7 separate regions of the Homo sapiens genome follow, and regions 1, 2, 4, 5, 6 and 7 are each linked to region 3. The links are contacts of gene promoters, found by promoter capture Hi-C in blood cells and fetal thymus (Javierre and others, 2016). All regions are on one chromosome and are shown on one strand. Each heading gives the region's core, a stretch centred on a gene start or on the middle of the fragment in contact. The rest is flanking DNA. Distances are from core to core; before and after follow the strand shown.

Region 1 (2,797 bases), core at 43-2,542, 430 kb after region 3:
ATGGAGAGTGGGAAATATACTTTGGAAGACTGGATGGAGAGACTAATCCTTTCCTCCTGCCAGGTCAGGAACTCTTCATTGGCCAATGAGAGGCAGTGTAACACTGGTCTGCTCCTTCCTCTGCCACCCCCAGCTTCCCATTTAGGACCCAGCTTTCTATGTCCTTTGTCATTTTGGGGTCATTGAGTTGAATCTATTCTTGAGTTCCCTGCCCTCCCACTCCCACCCCGGGGGACCAATTTCTGAAGTCATCTTCCCCCCACTTATTACACTGCAACCTAGTCTCCCTTGTCTTTTTTGGTCCATCTTTGGATTTATTTCCCTGAAGTGGGTGGGCAGGAATGAAGCAGACTAGAGGTGCTTCCAGATCTGTTCCGCCCTTCATCAGTGTCCACCCTTCCCCTCTGAACCAGTCCAAGACTGCGACATTTGTGTCAGAAGTCCCTTTGGCCCCTTTCCTGCTCCTGAATCCCTGGAGTGGTATTTGGAGGTGGGAGGAGGGGTAAGGTCCGAAGTGGAAAGTCTGACGCTGAGTCCAGGCCCCCAGCCCCACTCAGACTGGCTGAGCTCATCTCTCCAAGCAACCGCAGCTGGACATTTTCCATGTGATCACCTCAGGGAGGGGGGCTGGGTTCCAGAAACCCAGACAGAGTTGACTGAGTATCACAGCTTAGGAACAGAGCACCCTCAGGTGCCTCCTCTCCGCCTTCTCCTGTGTTTTGCATGGGAAAGCCCTGGGGGAGTAGCAAGGAATGGAGAAACAGACCTGGAGAAGGGCCAAAGCTGGAATATATTTTGGGCCCAAGTTGACCCAGGTTTCTACATCTTTCCCATGTTCACCATTTGTGCTGGCCAGGCTGGGAAAAGATCCTGTGTGATGTGAATGTGCCTGTGAGGTGAAAATCTCCCTCTCTGTGTGTGTATGGTCTGAAAACCTGAACATGCTTGTGTTGGTGTATTTGCATGGGTGGGGTATCTGTATCCTGATCTGTCAATAGGCTAAAGTTGGGGGTGTGTGTGTGTGTGTGTGTGTGTGTGTGTGTGTGAGGTGTGATTGCCCCTGCTCTCTTGCCAGTGCAGTGGGAGGTGAGATAGCAGTTTGGGGAAGAGGGCTGCCTGTTCTTACAACTCTCCCAACCCTCCCCACTACCACATCCCTTCCCAAACTCATGGTGTTCTCTTTCAACTGCAGATACTGGAGGGCCAGAGAAAGCAAGCTTGAAACAGAGAGGAACGGGTCACTTTGGTGGAGGAAATTGGGGTAAGGGAGCTTCTGGAACTGGCTAACATGGGAGTGATCATCTAGCTATTGATGCAGGGGCTGCTGTGAGAATAGCCCCGGCCTCTGCCATGAAGGCTGCTGAGCTGGAAGCTTTAGAGGGCGTTTCGTGTGGGTCTCTGCACTCCTTTCCCTACTCTGCCCTGGGCCTGAGATGTCTGGACAGGCTGGAGGAGGTTGGTGGAGAGGCAGGGAAGGGTATGGGCAGGAAGCACTTGGCTGTTTGTTCCCTCTCTTTCCTGACTCCTTTGTGGCAGCAGACTGGCTTCCTTCCTTCTCTCAGCATCTTGGCTCCCAGCTCATTTCCGCTTTTATGCCTTTAGTCTGGCTCTCAGCCTTGCACAGCGGAGTTTTTCCAAGCCGGGTCTTCTGGGCATAGGGACTCCTAGATGAGTGGGGCAGGGGCTGAGGAATGCAAATGAGATGTCAGTGTGCCCTTCCCTCAGCCCATTCAAAGTCTGTAGCCCTGGATTGAATGAACTGGAGGAGAAGCTTATTTGCCAGGGGATGGGAAGCAGAAACCCAGGTGTTTGGTTACCTGGGGCCTGCCTCTCCTTCAGCCTGAGATATGGAGAGAGCAGGGCTGGAAGGACTCCCTACCCCCACCTCAGCCTCGCTTCCCGCTCTGCGTCCCTACTTGGCTGTCCTTGCTTCAGTCTGCCCCTGCCCCACCTCCCACCTCCAGCTACTGCCCTACAAGTCAAGGAATGTAAGTTTTATTTCTCACCCTCTCATTGATTAGTCATGGGCACCCCGATCCCCACGGGAACCGTTACTCACCCTTGGGCCCCCCCTCACCAGCAGTCTCCCCAGAACTGGCTGGGTTCCTGTAGGAGGAGTTCACAGCCAGCCGTTGGACTTGGGGGGAGGTAGTGGGGGTTGTGGGTGGTGGGCAGTGTCCTGGAGACAGCCACTTTTGGAACAGTGGTTTGACCTTATTATGGCCCGGAAGCATGAGTCTCTCCCTCCTCCCAACACACACATATATACACAGAGACGTTGTACTCCTGGTTCTAGCTACTTTAATCACCATGGGTATTTTGTCAGAATAGGTGAGGTTGGGGTAGGGGAAGTGTCCTGTGACTGTCTGGAGAAGAGCCCAAAGCAACTGAACATTTAGTCTCTTCACTGGTGCTGGCTTTGGGGGCCAGGACTAGGGCCTGGGGCCTGCTCTTTGGACTTGGCTGAGTGCCCAGGCCTGGCCTCTGTCTCCCAGAATCAGACAGGGGCCTTTCCCAATAAGGAGCTTCCCAACTCTGGGTCCACTTCCCTGTTGCCCCCACCCCTTCTCCCCTCTAACAGTTCTTCTGCCCTAAAATGGCCACGTTTTGCCTTTCTTCCCTCCCCTACACCCAGGTTTGGGCCCCAGGGGTAGAGCTGGGGGTTGGATAAGGGTAAGACTGCACAGGGGCCAGATGGGCTGGTTTGGAGAAGGGTAATGAGATCCCAGGAAGAGAGAGGAACCGTGCCACATGACTCAGGTATGTATGGGGGGTGGAGGTGGAGGCACGGCTTCCT
Region 2 (2,872 bases), core at 278-2,777, 410 kb after region 3:
ATAAAAAAATTAGCCCGGCATGGTGGCAGGCACCTGTAATCCCAGCTACTTGGGACGCTGAGGCAGAGAATCGCTTGAACCTGGGAGGCGGAGGTTGCAGTGAGCCGAGATTGCGCCACTGCACTCCAGCCTGGGTGACAAGGGCATGACTCCGTCTCAAAAAAAAAAAAAGAGTAATAATAAAGTAACAATAGACACTGCTTACTGAGTTCTAACTCTATGGCAGGCACTAGGCTAGATTTTTTATGTAGATTATTTCATTTAATCTTTCCAAAAAGTCTGAGAAATAAATGCTACTATTCCCACTATACAGACAAAGGAGTTAAAGCTCAGAGCAGCTCAGCAACTTCCCAAGGCGACACAGCTAGTATGTCCCTAGCTGATTTTTTCAGGTGCCAGGTGCACCTGGAGCTCCCTAGCTTACCGTCAGCCCTACTTACCCAAACACTTCCAGCTGCAGGTCAGGCACACAGATGTTGTCTTCTCCACAGTCCAGCAAGATCTGAGCCTGGGGAGCAGGGCAGCCTTGAGAGGGGAAGTTTAGACCCATTCCTGGGCTGTAGGCTCTTCTCTTTCCATGGCCCTGCCCCCCCAATACCCAGGCCTCTGTCTTCCCAGGTCCCTTCTCCCTGCCCTGTCCTCACCTTGTCCTCTATCCGGCTCTTGCTCTGATAATGTAGGGCTGGCCTGAGGCCGTGGCTGTCCACTGGGGCTTGGGGGTCCAAGGAGAAGTTGAGAGCGATGTGAATCGGCGAGAGTTTGTCTCGAAATTCTGACTCGTTCTGGGGCCAGAGGAGAGAGTTCACGGAGTCAGGGGACTCTGGAGACTTAGTGGCCCTGCTCCTCAGCCTCTCTCATCTCCCTTTGTCTGCTTAGGGCCCAATTCCGACCATCCTCATTGTTTCAGAGGCCCTGGCAGCCTGCTTCCCAGCTCCTCTGACAGAAGGTCTCCCTTTCTCAGCCCCTACAAGAGTCCCAAGCCCTTCACTGGAGTCCCCCAGTCTTTTTCCCTTCAGGAGGTGCCCTCAGTTCTGTGTGGCCACCCTCCCTGGCCAGTCCACACCCCGCCCTCTGGGCCATACCCTGAGGTAGATCTTCATCTCTCTGCAATCCTCTCGAGCCCCATTCTGGATGAGCAGGGTCTGGGTCAGGGTTGCCTGCCTGGAGGCCAGGAACAGTGCCCGCCGTACCCCTCCCTTCTGCTTCTGCCAGTCCAGCTGAAGTTCCACTGTGAAACCTGAAGCCAGGGACATATAAAGGGAAACTGCCTGTCTTTCCTCATCTTTTCAGAGAGAAGAAATGTCCCCAGGTCCCCAGTCCCTTCATTCTCTGTCCTAGGGCCTGAGAGATCCAGGCAGTCTCCCTCACCAATGGAGTCAGCAACGTGTTTTCCAGAAGCATTGAGGCAGAAGCTAAGGTTGATGCTGGAGAGAGACCAAGAAGAAAGCTGGTGAATCCAACTGGAACAGACATCCTATCCTCTACCTATCTCCCAGCCAGACCCAGACTAGGACACCACCATTTTCCCCTTTTTAAGGCAGACTTGGTGCCCCTGCCCACTCCCAGGCTCAGGTCTCTGCAATTTCCTGGGCACCAGCTCACCAGGCCACAGGGTTCCCCTCTAAGCTGCAGCTCCGCTCCTCTGGGTTGAACATGGCGGGGAAGATGGTGAGGGAGGCACTAGCGGACACGATGGGGCGGCCCCTGCCAAGAGTGAATGTGGGGTCAATAGAATTAGGACTCCTCTGTAACCTGGACACAGGAAACTGATGCCCAAGCGCCAGAATGTGTGTCCTCTGCATTGATTTTCCCAACCTCAGCTCTGTTGAGAAATTTCCAGTTCCAGTCCACCCAGGTTGTCCCCTCATCTCCCTTTGGAGCTCATACCTGTATACCACAGCCTTGTCCACACCAAAGGACCCCACAATCAGATCTGTAAGAAGTCAAGAAATCACCTCTTACAGCAAGCCCCAGATCAGGATCCTTTCTTCCTAACCCCTCCTGGTTTCAACGCTCAGGGAGGTTGAAGTGAGAAGACAGCGCCCTCTGTTGGAATTAGCCAGAACTGCACCCAGGAACTTAAGGAAAGGTGCAGAAGAGAGAGTAGGGGTCAGTGACCAGGGAATTTTAAGGTGAAAAGGGGCCTCAGGCACAACTCACCAGGATATCCATTGCCATCCAGGTCTCGGCCTCCTCGAAGGGCAGAGCCAAAGAAGTCTGGGGTGTGGCTGGCTGCCCACAGGGGCTGCAGAACCTGGGAAGGCTTAGAGCCCAGCCCTCCTGGGCCCCCAGGAAATACAAACACTACTCCCTGCTGGGTCTCCCCACCAAAGGGAGCCCCGATGGCCACATCTGGAAGACACAGAACACACACTAGTCAGCAGGCCAGGAATCCATGGGCTCTAATCTCTACTACCAGACCCCAGGACCTAGGATCCTATTTTTTCCCATCTGTCAGTCCCTATATTCTAATCTTCAAATCCCAAGACCCAGACAGTGGGATTTTAACCCCTCGGGAAGTCGTGGAGGTCTGGGTATCTTAGCTGACAGATGCCCTCTCCCCAAATCCCTTCTGACTTGGGCCCCTGCCTCCTCTTTCACTCTCTGAGCCCATGGTACTCACCATTGTAGCCATCCTGGTCCAGGTCCCCCAGGGGGGTCAAGGAGCTGCCAAATCGGCCAAACTCATCATGGCCAGTGAGGGTAAGGGTGGGCGTGGGCTCTATGCCGGCTGGGTGCTGCAGGTAGACGTAGACCCTGCCCACCTCCTGAGGCCGCCCGTCAGGGGTCCGATCCATGAGCAGGGGTGCCCCCACCAGCAAGTCATCCAGCCTGAGGGGAAGGGCAAACCCAGGCATCTCGATACCCTGTC
Region 3 (2,859 bases), core at 105-2,604:
GCCCCTTAATTGTACTTCGGGCTCGTATTGTCTCTCCTTTCGCCACCTCCGCTTCCTCAGTCTGGGCTCCAAAGTCACTGCAAATTTCCTTGCGACACATACATCACACAAAAGATCAGGTAACAAGGCGCTCAGGGCCACTGGGGCTCCGGGCAGGGCAGGGAGCGGCTCTAGCTCTGGGGCGGCTCCCCCTCCAGCCACTCCCAGGCTGGAAAACCAGACCGCGTTGGGGGAGCCGGAAATAGCCCCGCTTGCTGCGGAGCGTCAGGGCGGGGGCGCCGGCGGGAATGCAGGCCCGGCAGGCCGTGGCTTTGAGAGAGCCACGTTCACAGGCCCTGGGGATTTCACTCCTGCTGGGCCTCGGGACCTGACTCCTGGTGTGTAGGGATCCCAGATACCCACCTTGGGTGGGGGCAGGACGCGGGTTTCCTCGCGGCAGGCCAAGAGAACTCAGTTTCTGCTTCCAGCGCAGGCCTTAGCTAGGAGGAGTTGTGTGTGGGTGTGTTTTTCCCAACAAAGAGGGATCAGGAGAGAGAAGGGGGGAAAGTAGAGGGGAACCAGGGAGGGGGCGGGGAGGGGAAGAGGGCAGTGGAGAGGTGAAATGAGCCCATTTCAGGGGGAGAAGGAAAATGAAAGCAAATGGAGTACGGCCTTCTCCGCGCAGGGCGGGTGCTGACGAGCCGGGAGCGGGCTCCCTGCCTGCGGCAGCCGGGATGGCCCGCTGGGGACACCGGAGAAAGCCTGTTTTAAATTTAATCCGAACTTGACGGTGTGGATTGAACCGGAGGGAATTTAAATCACTAAAAGGAAGGCGCGGGGCAGGGGGAGGGGACGACTCTAACCTGTCTATCTTTCTGTCTGTCCTTCCCACGGTGCTAGTTTGGTTGTGGCCGCAGCTGCCCAGGTTTCAGGTGATGGAGTAAGGGTGCCCCTCCCCCTCAGGGGTCTCTCCTGTGCCCAGTGAAGTCTTTTGGGGGTGGGAGGGAACTCTAAGAACCAGAGTGAATGCACAGCTGCGAGCTAAAGCTGGGGTTTCCCCCTCCCCAACAAGAACTCCCAGTGGCCTCCAGTCCCTGGGTTTGCCCCAGCGGTGCTGAGGAAAATTGAAGGGAGTATGTGGGTGAGGGGAAGTCTGGAGTATGGCAGAAGATTCAGAAGGAGTAACTGAACCCCAGGAAGACAGACCTTCCTTCTTGGTGCCCCTATATCCTTTGTGCCCCGCCCCCCGCACCTACAAACCTGGATTTGAGGGAAATCTGCAGGTCCGCTTCAAAGCCCTGGTCTGCCACCCACACCCCTCCAAATGTGGAGAATGGGGGCTACAGGCCACATGCAGTTGTGGACCTGCGGAACCTCCGCCCAGTGGACTCCGGAACTCCCAGCCTCTTCTAGCCCCCCTCCCCAAGGCCGCCTCTCTCCGAAGGGCGCAGGGAAAATGAGGCATTGGCTGGGAAGGGGCTGTGGGCGAGGCCTGCTTCCTGATCCACAGCCGTGCCTGCCTCTGAGTGGGAAGAGTTCGGAGGTCATAGTCCCAGAAAATAAAATAAAATAAAGGAAAGCGACAATCTCCTTGGTTTCACAGGGGATTTCACGGCAGCAGGGATCCCGCCGGTGAGCCTCACTGCCCGCTGCTGCCGCCTCCGCAGAGTGGGCAGGCAGGGTGCGCAGGCAGCTCAAGAGTTGAAAAGAAGGCGGTGTTCAAAGGGGGTAGGAGAGAAGGGGGCATCTCTTTACGGCCCCAATGTCTATTTGAGGAACTCTCCCAAATAGCAGAGGCCCATAGGGGAGGCTCCTTAGGGACTCTTTCCTCCAGGAAAGCTGAGGCTGGGGCAGCTGGCCTTGTCGCTTGGAGAAGACGCAAAGGAAGAGCAGGGGTGAAACCTCTTTCCTCTTCTGTTTCTTCGCTCCTTGAATAGAGCAGGGCTCAGCCCCCAGCTGCCTAAGCGGCTGTCTGGACCAATATGGGGTTCTATATCCCTGAGGCCTAGAGTACCCATCCGAGCAAGTCTCCTGGGAGGGGCAGGAGAGGAGCCCTCTTCCGCCTTTGTGTCCAGACAGAAGTGGCCGCCGCGCCCGGAGCCGGTCCCGCGGCAAAGGCCCGGCAAGCCAGCGGGCTGCACAATGCCACGGCTGCTCCGCCAGCTCGCCCCTGCCCCGTCCTGCCTGCCTACGGCCGCCCTTCCTCCGCCTCCCTCTCTGCACGCCTGCCTTTCCCGGCTCTCCTATCTCTTTTCATCTTGCCTTCCTTCTTTTAATTCTCCCCCTTTTTTCCCTTTATTCTAATGCTCCGCTTCCTTCTTTCCTCTCTTGGGCCTGACTCCATGTTTCAGTTGGTCTGTCCCAGGCTGTCTCGGGTTCAGTCTCTCTCAGGCTCTGTCCCCTGATGTCCTCTTGGTCTCAGTCTGGCCCCGGGCCCCGCTGAGGGCTAAACGTCTCTGCTCATCGCTGCCAGCAGCCGCCCAAGTGCCGGGCCCGGTCCTCAGCCGCCCTGGGCTGGGGGAGGTGCTGGCTGTACTGGGGATTTGGAGAAAGCCTCGGCAGGGGGACTGGAACCTCCTGTCTTTTCCTTGAACTAGTGAGGGAGATTTTTTGATTGACAGCTAACCCAACTCCATCAAGGCCAAAGAGATATTCTGTTTCTTGTTGTAAGTTGGGCTTCCCAGCTCAGTCCAGCTCAAGGGAGGGGAAGACAGTGGCGCCAAGGAGCTGAACCCCCAAGTCGCCTCTCCCCAACCAAACACATCCCTCATCCTCCCCCATGAGTTGAAATCCCAGCCCCGTTAAGCCGCCCCCTTAGACCAAAAAGGAAAAGGAAAGAGCCAGAGAGGGGGAGGAGCAGAGACTTGGGAGGGGGCCTAT
Region 4 (2,825 bases), core at 249-2,748, 330 kb after region 3:
CTTTCTTTCTTTCTTTCTTTCTTTCCTTCCTTCCTTCCTTCCTTCCTTTCTTTCTTTCTTTTCTTTCTTTCTCCTTTTCTTTTCTCTTCTCTTCTCCTTTTCTTTTCTTTTCTTTTTTTTTTGAGATGGAATTTCGCTCTTGTTGCCCAGGCTGGAGTGCAATGACGAGATCTCGCCTCACCTCAACCTCCGCCTCCCAGGTTCAAGTGAGTCTCCTGGTTCAGCCTCCCGAGTAGCTGGGATTACAGGCATGTTCCACCACGCCCGGCTAATTTTGTATATATGTATATTTTTTGAGACGGAGTCTCGCTCTGTCACCCAGGTTGGAGTGCAGTGGCGCGATCTCAGCTCACTGCAAACTCCGCCTCCTGGGTTCACGCCATTGTCCTGCCTCAGCCTCCAGAGTAGCAGGGACTACAGGCGCCCGCCACCCACGCCCGGCTAATTTTTTGTATTTTTAGTAGAGACGGGGTTTCACTATGTTAGTCAGGATGGTCTTGATCTCCTGATCTCGTGATCCGCCCGCCTCGGCCTCCCAAAGTACTGGGATTACAGGTGTGAGCCATCACGCTCGGCCTGTATTTTTTTTTTTTAGTAGAGACGGGGTTTCTCCATGTTGGTCAGGTTGGTTTCAAACTCCCGACCTCAGATGATCCGCTCGCCTCGGCCTCCCAAAGTGCTGGGATTACAGGCTTGAGCCACCGCGCCCAGGCACAACGGCTTGTTTCTATTGGAAAACCCCAGAATTTACTCCCTATAACCCCTCTCTTATTCTAATCCCATCCCTTTCCCCGTTTGTCCCGCAAACCCCATCTCCAAAGCCGATTTCACGTTGAGCTCAAGTTGGCCTTTACAAACTGACTTCTCATGTTCCTCAGGCCCAGCAAAGCCTGGAACTCCACCTTAGGGAGATTGTTATTGCGACTATCAACTCCTGGCAGCCTTGGTTTATGTAGTTAACATGTTGGGCCTTTCTTGGCTCTACTCTATGGTTGTGCAGACTTTCTGTGAGGATGCTGAAGTGACCTGAGCGAGCATGAGGGAAGGGCTAGCCACAGAGATCATGGACCTAATGCGGGCGCTGAAAATAGGGATTAGGGCAGGATTCCGGTTAGAAAGCGCCAGTGTTAAAGGCTAAGGAGACACAGCGCCCCCTAAAGAGGGTGCGGTTTAAAAATCGCTAAATCAGTCCGACAATATCACGTGTCCTCGGCCCTACCAATTGAAAATTAACAATCGCTTCTTCTGTTCCCCATGGAAACAACCCCGCCCCACTAACCCTCCCGCCCCAATGAGTCGTGAGGTTTTGGCGTTTTATTGAGTATTCAAGCTGACAATCAAACACCTGAGCCTTCTGGTTGGACACTTTGCTTCCGGTAAGCAAGCTAGTACAATAATTGGCCAATAAAGCAAGCCTTACCCAATGATCCTTATCCTAGGCGGGGCCTAATGGGAACGTATGGCCAATCAGCGGCGGCGTTTCTTTTGCGGCTCCACGTCGGCACCAGCTGCGGGGCAAGATGGAGGCGCTGATTTTGGTAGGAGCTGGAGGGGCAGCAGAGATGCTGTGGTGTCCACAGGGGCCGGGAGTCAGGGTTCAGCCCGAGTGGGAGACGGGGAAAGAGAGTTCCGGGTAATTCTTGGGGACTGAGCGTTCTGCTGACCTTTGGAATAAGTGTGTGGCCTAGTGTAGGAGCTAAAGCCTTGGTTTAGAGTAGGAAGCCCTGCCGGGGAGAGGGCATAGAGTCGGTGGAAAGTTGAAGGCAGCACATGGACTCCTTAGGATACACAGACCTGTAGGCGTACTGGATTAGGACCCTTCAGGTTGCCCCTTATTTTTAGCATTGTGGATGATACCCTGATTTTAATTTACCAAACCACCAAACTCGCCCCATATTGTAAGAAAAGAATACAGATGTTTTGTCGTTACAGACTCCTCCTGATGGTTTCCCAAGTTTGACTCTCCATTGCCGATTCCCTGCCACATTCCTTCAGGAAACTGTTTTGTCTTCGGTTTCCTGTTAATCCCTATTATATAGGTTTGTCAAATAATCAGTATTCCATCAAAGTTCTGGGATACCTGATAAAGTTAGCATGGATTGTGGAATATTTTTTCTAGACTCCTTATTCTGTTCTCCTTTTCTCTACCCATTTAGACCTTAGGAATTCTTTTTTTTTTTTTTTTTTTTTGAGACCGAGCCTTGCTCTGTCACCCAGGCTGGAGTGCGCACGTGGCGCGATCTTGGCTCACTGCAATCTCCACCTCCCGGGTTCAAGCTATTCTCTTGCCTCAGCCTCCCGCGTAGTTGGGACTATAGGCGCGTGCCACCACGCCCGGCTATTTTTTTTGTATTTTTAGTAGAGACGTGGTTTCACCATGTTGGCCAGGCTGGTTTCGAACTCCTGACCTCAAGTGATCCGCCCGCCTCGGCCTCCCAAAGTGCTAGGATTACAGGCTTGAACCACCGCGCCTGGCCAGGAATTATTATTATTATTATTATTATTATTATTTTTGAGACGGAGTCTCACTCTGTCGCCCAGGCTGGAGTGCAGTGGTACGATCTCGGCTCACTGCAAGCTCCGCCTCCCGGGTTCACGCCATTCTTCTGCCTCAGCCTCCGGAGTGGCTGGGACTACAGGCGCTCGCCACCACTCCCGGCTAATTTTTTGTATTTTTTAGTAGAGACGGAGTTTCACCGTGTTAGCCAGGATGGTCTCGATCTCCTGACCTCGTAATCCACCCGCCTCGGCCTCCCAAAGTGCTGGGATTACAGGCGTGAGCCACTGCGCCGGGCCAGGAATTCTTATTGTATGATCTAGGATGC
Region 5 (2,847 bases), core at 160-2,659, 340 kb after region 3:
GTTTCTCAGATAGATCATCTTCTCACTGCTTCTTAACTCCCCCAAAATTCAGGTTGGCTTTTGTCCTTGGAAGTTAAGTGGTAGTGGTTAAGGTATAGTGGAAGAATTGGAGAACATAGGAGAGTTTTTGAAGATGGCTGTTTTACTAGGCTGCATTGAGAACTGGTGTGCCTGTGCGTGTGTGTGTGTGTGTGTGTGTGTGTGTGTGTGTGTGTGTAAACGCTCTTTTCCCTCTGCTTAGTGTGTGGGTGGTTTAGGGAAGGCTTGCTTTATGCTTCTGCATTGCTACTGCATTCGGACTGCAGAAACTTCCAAGTATACTAGGACATTCAACCCTATTTTCAAATGGCTTTGTTCAGTGCCTTTTAATTAATCTGGTCACATTCTATAGCCACCTGTACATGGGAGAGCAGGAAGGGAGAGGGTAATTTGGAAAATAACTGTACCATAATATTTGGAAATAACAGCATGACCTCTCTTGATTAAGCCCCCTGTGAGTCAGAGAAACTGTTTCTCTGATGGTACTTTGGAATCCTTTGTTTAAATGCTTTCTCTGTCAATTCAGTTTACTTACCCTGGGTCTTTCTCAATGGGAAATATCAAAATCTGACCAAGTTGAGGTAAGGGACTTACAGAGGTACCTCTGTATCCCCTTGCAGCCCCAGTGGGACTAGGGGAAGGTATCTGGTTTACCAGTGGTGATGGGAGGCTTCAGGACTGAAGGTATGTTCGTATCTCTTCAGGAACCTTCCCTGTATACTGTCAAAGCCATCCTGATTCTGGACAATGATGGAGATCGACTTTTTGCCAAGGTGAGATTCCCTTTCGAATTAGTTTAGGAACAGCACAAAGGTTTATTCTGAGATTTGAATCTTGGGACTGATACCTTATTAACTTATGTTCCTCAGTAGTATAATTTTGAGAATACTTCCATCTTTTTTTTTTGAGATGGAGTTTCGCTCTTATCACCCAGGCTGGAGTGCAATGGCGTGACCTTGGCTCACTGCAGCCTCAGCCTCCCAAGTAGCTGGGATTACAGGCACGCGCTACCACCCCCGGCTAATTTTTTGTATCTTTAGTAGAGACAGGGTTTCAGCAGGTTGGCCAGACTGGTCTCAAACTCCTGACCTCATGATTCGCCCGCCTTGGCCTCCCAAAGTGTTGGGATTACAGGTGTGAGCCACCACACCCGGCCTGAATTCTTCCATCTTATCTTGCCTACTCCAGATAAAACCTGTTTTCTTTTGTCCCTTAGTTGTACTGCTGCCCTGCTTGCTGTCCTCAGACTTTGACCTCCTTTGTTGTCAGCATCAGATCAGGGAAAAGCTTTGAAACTTTGGTTCCTAACAAAGCAGTATGTAGATGCTAAGAGGCAGTCCGCCCATGTCCATCATTCCTGTCCCCTTCCCTCATACCATGTCACCCTGCCTGGGTTTTTCCAGAGAATTGTCTTGCAGTTCCAGGTTTCCATTCCTAGGTTTATAGTCACCATCAAGCTTGTTACCTCCTGACTTTCCCAGAGTGATGTTTCCAACTTTAGATCTGTTGGAAGAAAGAAGAAAGGACACCCTCTCTCCCTCCATATTCTCCCCCTCCTGTAGAAATTTCTTCTGTCCCTGGTGTATTAACTCCGGGCGAGCGTAGCATAAATCAATCAGCAGGTAGAGATTAGTTTAGAATTCACCAGCTGTTCCTCCCTGTAATTGGATGTAACTATGCAGGACACCTTTTGAAACAGTTATCCAGTTACTAAATGCCAGACCTGTCATGGGTCTTCAGCTGACTGCGACGGATTAGCCCCTAAAGAGCTAGCGATTTAGCAGCCTGCATCTCCGCCCCCTTTGCCAGGGAGAGCCTGGGAATGGGCTCAGTGGTATGCTGGATGCTTCTTTCAGCTTGCAGAAAAGAAAGCTAAGATAGATCATAGGGCAGGGTTTGCCTTTCTTTGGAGGAGGTTTTTGTAGCCTTTCCCCATTCCTCAGCTTCATACAGTGAGTGAGGGTCTATGGAAGTGTTCTGTGCTTCTAGTGTTTTTTGTGTTCTCTGGCACTGCTTCCTGACATGGGGTAGCTCCTAGGAAACACTTGATGAGAATGGTTTTAGGAGAGGTCTAGATTGCAGACAGCTGCAGAGCCTCACTGTAGGGCTGGTAGGCTTCTGCCTTCAGACAGTCTTGGAAATGTGAGGTGGGGTTGCTTATGGCAGGGTCTTTTATTTATTTTTCTTGGATTACTCACTGCCCATTCTCTGCCTCTACAATCCTTCCTTTTCCATGTCAGTATTTCTCCCTTGCCCCATGCCTTGAAGGAGAGAAATCCAAGATCCCAGGGCAAAACATAGTCACTAATCATTCTGGCTTCCAGCTCTAGTGACCCAACCCTGTCTTCTTTCCCTCTGACCAGTACTATGACGACACCTACCCCAGTGTCAAGGAGCAAAAGGCCTTTGAGAAGAACATTTTCAACAAGACCCATCGGACTGACAGTAGGTCATTTTCCTTTCACTACTACCCGTGCTGGGGGGAACCATGGTGGAAAGGGGGTGGTAACAGGGCTGCAGAGAAAGGATGAAATGACTCTGCCTTTTTCTTTTTTTTTCCTTCTTCCCCTTGTATAATAAACTCTTCAGAATGTAATGGGGAGGTGAGTGTACCTCACGCGGGAATACCATGCTGGAAGGTTGGCTGTTAGCTACCTGTCTAGTCCCTGGATTTATGAGCCTCACTTGACAAATTTAATTGCAGCTCTGCTTATTGTACCGCATCCATTAGGGCAGGTAAATGGAAGTCTGTAAAGGTGACCGCTCTGCATTTTCACCTCCGAAGGATCGACTAGTATCCTGTCTCAT
Region 6 (2,853 bases), core at 7-2,506, 300 kb after region 3:
GGGGCTTGCCTCAGGATCCCTTTTCTGAGGCTTATTTGACCACCTCACCTCTCCAGGTGTCAATAGGTGCAGTGAAAGGATGAGGAGGGATTAGTAAAACTTGGGGTATTGGTTAACCGGTAAGCAACCTATTTAGAAAGATTAGGGAGAACTCCCGAAGAGAGAGAGACACACAGAGATGAGACAGAATGAAGGGGAAAAAAAGGAGGGAGAGAGATTTAAGCATAGTGAGCTCAGTGCCCTAGGGACATGCATGACTCAAACAAATGTGTGAGAACAAAGAAGAGGGGGACGAGTTTCTGCTATTGTGTCACTTCATCCCTGGACCCCAAACTCCAGTCCTTTGGTACCGATGTCTAGGGGATCCCAGCCCCAGCAGTTCTGATACCTCCTCTCTTCTCTTCCACTGCTTCCCAAGCCCCTATTTCCCAAGCAGCCAAGAGTTCCAGTTAGAAGCAACTATGCTGGGGTTGGGATGTCTTCCTTCTCCCTCCAGGTCCAGCTGATCTCTACTGCCCCTGGGCACAGAGAAGAGAAAGGGCAAAGGAGCCAACAACCCAGAGGCAATCTCCCATCCAACCCCCGCACCTTGCAACACTTCTCAGAGGTTCAGATATCCAGTGTTTCCAATTCCTCAGCTTTCCCTAAACCTTCTCAGCTGCCTAGACAGGGCAGAGTAATGGAATGGAGTTGGGGAAAGGGTAGTCTATTGGTTCCCTCAGGGTAGCCCACCAGTTGAAGGATTCCTCCTGGCTACTCCCCAGCCCCTCAGCGGTGCCTTGCCTCTGGAGACCCCTCTCTGATCCCCATTCACAGCCTCCACCCCAAGGATCCCAGAGCACCCAAGAAACCACTTAGGTCTTCTCCTAGAGGAGTTCCCAAATATGTCAGATTCCTAAACCAGGGGCAATCTAGAAAGTCTGAGGTCTCCTAGGATACCGAAAGTTGGTTATTTTCCCCCCTCACCTCCTTCACCCCCCAGCCTGCCCCTCGGATCTCACTGGAATCCGCCCCCCCCACACACACCCTGCCTTTCAGGCACCTGTGGTGGAGTCACAGCAGGGTGAGGAGAGAGATGAGGCTCCCGGTGTTGTCTCTGGGGAGGCTGAGCCTGAGCTGACACTGCTGGACGAGGATCCCGGCTACCTTTGAGAATCTGCGAGGACCGCGCCCCGCCCCCGGGCCATTGCTGAGCGCTGAGTGTGGAAGCTCAGGCTGAGCTGAGCACAGGAGCCCCAAGCAGGCGCACCAGCGTCTGAAGCCCTCGGCCTGAGTTCTCAGTCCTTCCTCCAACCCTCCCCTTTCCCCGTGGCTCTCCTCTCCTCCTGCCCCTTTCGGCCAAGAGAGGAAACTTGAGCCCGATGTGGTTTCTGCCCACACCCCGCCCCCACCTTGCTCCTGGCCAGCGGGGGCACACATGGCTCCAAGCCTCTCCCAGCCCTCCTTTTCAGCCCAGGAGTCCAGCCAGGTCTGCGTTTCTCCCATGCATTTGACGAATTCCAACCTGATGGTCCACTCGAATGTGACCTTTAAACTTTATACAGGTTGTCGTCGCCTTGTGTCCCCACGGCTCTCCTAGGGACAGGGAAACTGAGTCATATCAAGGTGGAAGGCAGCTGAAGGTAAGGACCAGGTGTCTAGCTTCCCAGCTGTCTAGGCAGTTGGACGTTTAGGGTATAGCCTTCATTTACAGAAAACCTGGGCTCTGGGAACAAGGGCAGGGGAACTATTTGGAGGAGGAGGGGCAACTGACTGCTTTGATGTGTCCTTTCACCTGTAGCCTTCTCCCCTCCCCCCTCAGCCTCAGAAGTCCCAGGACAAAGGATTCTTTCTTGGCCAGGTTTTTGTCAGTGTGTGAAGGGAGTTAGGTGGGGGGCCACCCAGCAGGGAGATTATTCACCTCCCGTAAAGGGGACCCCAGGTGTCCTTTGTCCTCCTTTCTCCCAGGCAAAGCACCCCAGCCACATGGCACCCAACTCTGTTAGGCCAGTAAGTACCCTTATTCATCTTTTTTTTTTTTTTTTTCCAGAGAGGGGCTCACTCTGTCTCCCAGGCTGGAGTGCAGTGGTGTGAACATGTTTCACTACAGTCTCAAACTCCCAGGCTTAAGCAATCCTCCCACCTCAGCCTCCCAAGTAGCTGGTTCTATGGGTCAGTGCAACCATGCCCAGCTAATTTTTTTTTTTTTTTTTTTTTTTGGTAGAAGTGGTGTCTCACTATATTGCCTTGGCTGGTATTGAATTCTTGGGCTCAAGCAATCCTCCCCTCTTGGCCTCCCAAAGTGCTGGGATTACAGGCATGAGCCACCTCACCCAGCCCACTTATTCATCTTTTTGCCTGCAAGCTACACCACCAAAGCCCCAGGTCAAACATCTTTCTCCACAGACTGTGAGAAAAGAGCCTTTCTTCCTCCTAATTTGTAATGGCTTTCAGCTCTATATGTCTAGCTTCAATCCTGACATCTGCAGCTTACATTTTTTCTTCTTACAATGTTCAAGTTAAATTAGAAACATCTGAAGACTGGGGAAGCAGATAGGTGCCACTCTGGAGTAGGACTGGCATTCAACCAGCATGCTCTGATGGGATTGTATTTGCTGTTAAAATAATGAAAATGTTCAGTCCTAGTTGATAAAAGGCAGCTGCTGTGAGCCCTCTAAGTGTCCCCCACGACTCCACCAATAGCCTAGTTCTCCTCTAAGATCCCCAACAACCCAGCAACACAACCATGGAAGTAAAGAGGCAATGCTGGTACCATAAGGAGCCTCCTGTGCTGCCTGCTTCTGCTGGAATTGGCCAATGCCCATGCCAAACCTATGGTTAAATGCTTTGAATTCCATCCCTTTTCCAGTAGAT
Region 7 (3,152 bases), core at 491-2,990, 360 kb after region 3:
ATAGCGGTTGGAGGGCATGGGGGATGGGGGCGATGTGTGACTCTTCCCCAGCTCTGTTTTCCTTAGGTCTCCCTTATATTATGGACCTCCATCTTTGTTCACTACCCACCCAAACCCAGAACAAGCCCTTTCACTGGGTTGGGGGGTCACAGACACATGGCTTCTAGAGCTGAGGGCTGCAGAAGGTATGTGGATCCATAGGCAGATCCACCACCCCTTCTCAATTTCCTGGAGGCCCAGAGCAAGGGATGTCAAGAAGTATTGGCTGTTTTTAATTCTCAGCAGCAGTGAGGGTGGGCAGGTTGGAGGCCAAGACTCCTAGGAGATGCCCTGAGCCCCACATTCCTAGCCTCCTTTCCCAGGGATCCAGGCTGTGGTCTGTGGAGGTGGGGGATTTCAAATCTTCCTTTCCTGTGAGGATGGTGACAGGCCAGAGAAATCTGCCTCTGAATTTTCTGGCTTATCTCCCCTATTCCTCAGCAACTGAGCTTAAGGGGACAGGGGGGAAATGGGCTTCTCCCCACCTTCTGCAAAAATGTTGTAACTGCACACTAGGGGCTATACGAATGCCAGGATGCTTGGAAAGTTCCTCCCCTATCTGCCTTCAATCCTTTCTGCTGCAAAGCTCTGCAGTCCTCTGAGGGGCTCTACAGGATAGTCAACCCCTCTTCCTGATACCTGAAACCCATTCCTCACCTCCGTCTGTGCTTCCTTCTCTGGCTCAGGAGGAGAGGGAATGTGTGGGTGGGGCCTTGGGAAAATGGCCATGTTAAAAATAGGAGCCCCCAGCTGCACCCCCCAGTGGACCCTTATTTATCACCTTCTAAATCTCACTCTCAAAGAAGCATAAATATTCCTAATTCCTGAAGGCCACCCTGGACTCATAAATTTAACTGGGGAGGTGGGCAAGGGGAGGAGTGAGGTGCATGGGATGGGGAGCTTACTGCAGCCTTGAGGAAGCAGAATATCTCCTGGGGGAGGCGCCTGACTCGTCTGTCCCCTTGCAGACGCCAATGGGTCTTCATAGGGGAGGAGGAGGAGCCTTTCTGTCAATATTTCCGTTGGGGAGTAGTCTTCTCTCACGGCACCTTTCCTCCCTCCCCTAAAAACAAACAAAAAACCAAAAACCTACCTTCCTCCTGGTCTTTCCCATTAGTTCTCTGTCGCTCTCCCTCTCTCTTTTCTTTGCTATTACCTTCCAGTTGTCCTTTCCTGCTTCTCCCTCTCTCTCACCTCCCTATTGCGCCTTTCTCTGTCTTTGCTTCTCTAATGCTTTTCCTTTTCAGAGCCATTGTGTGAAAAGGAAATTTCCGTCTCTTATTCAGTCTGGATAGTGAGATTTGAAAAGTCCCTCTCTCGATGCCCGATTTCCCTGCTTCAGCCCGTGTGGCCCCTCAAATGTGTCCTTTCTCTTCATCTCTCCTTCTTTCTTCTCGGATCTTGGACAAATTACCCAACCCCCCATTTAGCTCCTTAACCCTCTCTCTCTTCCCCTGCCTTCCTTCTCTCCTCAACCTTCCTTTCTTTCTGTCATCCTTTTGCCCTCTCAGTTTCCCCTTCGTTCCTCAGCTCGGAATCCTCTCTCCCTGTTCAGTCTCCTCTGCTCTCCCTGTCGGCCCCCATCCACACCCCTCAAACTCGACTCCTCGGCCCATGTGTACCCTCAGACCCCATCATCCCTTCAGTTCCCGTTACCACCACACCCCAGTTTCCCCTCCCAGTGGACGAAAGAGAAGGGAGGAGGGGGCCTGAGGAACAGGTAGAGGGAGCGCCATTCCTTGAGGGGAGGGAAAGAGGGGAAAAAAGCGGGGGAGAGGAGGAGGGACGCGGCGGGAAGGGGAGGGGAGGGGCATCCTCACTCCTCACTCCCTAGCAGCTGCACCCCCCTCCCCGCGGCTGCTGAGCCATAAATCAGGGCCAAGGTGGTTTGGCCAATGGTAGAGTGACTCGTAAATCGGCCTGTCAAGCTCAGCCAATGAGAGGCGGCGTTAAATCAAGTTCTGTCAGCGCTTGGCCAATGAAAGGCCCTGGGCTGACCATAAATCTGCCTGTAAGAGACAGCGAAAGAGAGAGAGCGTGCGAACGAGCAAGAACAGCCCGGGCGGGCGACTGGGGAGGGGGCGGGGGGAGCGCGGCAGCGGGGATTGGAGAGACGAGCTTAGGAGAAAAAAAAAGGCGATAACAGAGGTACAGGAGATGAAGACAGCCTACAGGAGAGACGGACAGATGGAAAGAGACAAAGAGAGGCAGTGAGAGATAGCGTCAGAAAGTCAGGGATAGAGCTCGGACTCGGGCGAGAGACTGACAGAGATAAAGAGACAAAGAGAGACAGACAGTGACTCACACTCGTGAGCATAAAGGGCCTCCAAACACACACACATCCCGAGACACGCATGAGCAACGCACCACGAGGGACCCAGTGCATGGCCTCACTCGCCAAGCACAACCGCAAGAGAGAGAAGGCCTCAAGAAAGCCTGGCTTTTCTTCAGTTTCATTCCCCTCATTCAGCCCTTATTGAAATTAGGGGCTGGGGTGGATGTGTGGGCCGTGGCGGGTGGCTGCTTTTTTGCTAAGATCTGTCCTCTATGGTCTTAGACCCCAGGATTTCCTTCTGTGTCTCCTGAGTTTTTTTTTTTTCCCCCCAGCGACTGATAATTGGGAAGTCCTTTCTGAGGTCTAACCTCAATCCCTATTGCTTCACCTTTCTACTTGACACCGTTGTGATTTGCCTTCTAAGGACATGTAAAGTGAATCCTTTTACAACTCTTCAGAGTTGTCAACTTTCAGAATCTTAGAAGGTCTGAATAGGAAGGACAGTTAGGGATCATCTGGACACTTGATCCTAGTTTTAGAAAGGCGGATTTGAGACTCTGCCCTCAAATCACGGTCTTACAACGTACTAGGCATTCGGCCTTGGACAAATTACTTAACCTATTTGTGCTTCAGTTTTCACATTTGTAAGAAAGAAATTATAATAGATACTTCATGGTAATTTTGTGAGGATTACATGAAATAATATATGTACAGGGAACTGCACTGGGCACGTGTTAAGAGTGTACCCCGCACCCCGCTTTGTACAGATGATAAAATCTGAGCCCCAGAGTGGTCCAGAGATCTGCTCAAGTTCCGAGAGCTAACTATGAGAGAGCCT

The links. Contacts are between HindIII fragments. The CHiCAGO score rates a contact against its expected background, and 5 or more counts as called.
Region 1: a fragment that was not itself captured here is called in contact with the fragment with the promoter of HOXC-AS2 in region 3 in 1 of 17 cell types (total B cells); the score reaches 5.3 in total B cells.
Region 2: a fragment that was not itself captured here is called in contact with the fragment with the promoter of HOXC-AS2 in region 3 in 1 of 17 cell types (naive B cells); the score reaches 5.3 in naive B cells.
Region 4: a contact is called between a fragment that was not itself captured here and the fragment with the promoter of HOXC-AS2 in region 3, in 2 of 17 cell types (naive B cells and total B cells). The highest score is 6.8, in naive B cells.
Region 5: a fragment that was not itself captured here is called in contact with the fragment with the promoter of HOXC-AS2 in region 3 in 3 of 17 cell types (total B cells, naive B cells and erythroblasts); the score reaches 6.5 in total B cells.
Region 6: a contact is called between the fragment with the promoter of NFE2 here and the fragment with the promoter of HOXC-AS2 in region 3, in 13 of 17 cell types (naive CD8 T cells, non-activated CD4 T cells, total CD4 T cells and 10 more). The highest score is 17.7, in naive CD8 T cells.
Region 7: a contact is called between a fragment that was not itself captured here and the fragment with the promoter of HOXC-AS2 in region 3, in 7 of 17 cell types (naive B cells, total B cells, erythroblasts and 4 more). The highest score is 7.8, in naive B cells.

The regions. Positions count from the first base shown.
Region 1 is chr12:54,426,665-54,429,461 of GRCh38, forward strand. GPR84-AS1 (GPR84, ZNF385A, ITGA5 and GTSF1 antisense RNA 1) reads left to right here. Exons shown (of 4, transcript NR_120487.1): 3 at 1,193-1,261. Among named protein-coding and RNA genes, the nearest start is that of ITGA5, 8.8 kb to the left of the region's middle. The HindIII fragment of the contact is 155 bases long and covers 1,216-1,370 here.
Region 2 is chr12:54,402,543-54,405,414 of GRCh38, forward strand. ITGA5 (integrin subunit alpha 5) reads right to left here. Exons shown (of 30, transcript NM_002205.5): 12 at 2,624-2,832; 13 at 2,161-2,352; 14 at 1,888-1,933; 15 at 1,603-1,704; 16 at 1,369-1,424; 17 at 1,083-1,237; 18 at 645-782; 19 at 441-508. All of the region lies in intron 1 of GPR84-AS1 (GPR84, ZNF385A, ITGA5 and GTSF1 antisense RNA 1), which reads left to right. Among named protein-coding and RNA genes, the nearest start is that of ITGA5, 15 kb to the right of the region's middle. The HindIII fragment of the contact is 8,596 bases long and covers 1-2,872 here.
Region 3 is chr12:53,995,431-53,998,289 of GRCh38, forward strand. HOXC-AS2 (HOXC cluster antisense RNA 2) reads right to left here and starts at 1,355. Exons shown (of 3, transcript NR_047505.1): 1 at 1,240-1,355; 2 at 403-479; 3 at 1-88. RefSeq lists an enhancer at 1-355. The HindIII fragment of the contact is 15,520 bases long and covers 1-2,859 here.
Region 4 is chr12:54,323,644-54,326,468 of GRCh38, forward strand. It overlaps COPZ1 (coat protein complex I subunit zeta 1), which reads left to right and starts at 1,488. Exons shown (of 9, transcript NM_016057.3): 1 at 1,488-1,538. The coding sequence starts at 1,521. The HindIII fragment of the contact is 3,244 bases long and covers 1-2,825 here.
Region 5 is chr12:54,339,804-54,342,650 of GRCh38, forward strand. COPZ1 (coat protein complex I subunit zeta 1) reads left to right here. Exons shown (of 9, transcript NM_016057.3): 2 at 744-812; 3 at 2,403-2,484. Among named protein-coding and RNA genes, the nearest start is that of MIR148B, 4.0 kb to the left of the region's middle. The HindIII fragment of the contact is 170 bases long and covers 1,325-1,494 here.
Region 6 is chr12:54,299,759-54,302,611 of GRCh38, forward strand. It overlaps NFE2 (nuclear factor, erythroid 2), which reads right to left and starts at 1,257. Exons shown (of 3, transcript NM_001136023.3): 1 at 1,043-1,257. RefSeq lists a cis regulatory region at 1,029-2,003 and an enhancer at 1,404-2,144. The HindIII fragment of the contact is 10,882 bases long and covers 1-2,853 here.
Region 7 is chr12:54,357,305-54,360,456 of GRCh38, forward strand. The region is part of intron 1 of GPR84-AS1 (GPR84, ZNF385A, ITGA5 and GTSF1 antisense RNA 1); the gene reads left to right. It also overlaps a transcript of GPR84 not described here. Among named protein-coding and RNA genes, the nearest start is that of GPR84-AS1, 5.2 kb to the left of the region's middle. RefSeq lists enhancers at 1-465, 466-1,290, 1,291-2,115 and silencers at 1,673-1,912, 1,923-1,992, 2,143-2,322. The HindIII fragment of the contact is 3,720 bases long and covers 1-3,152 here.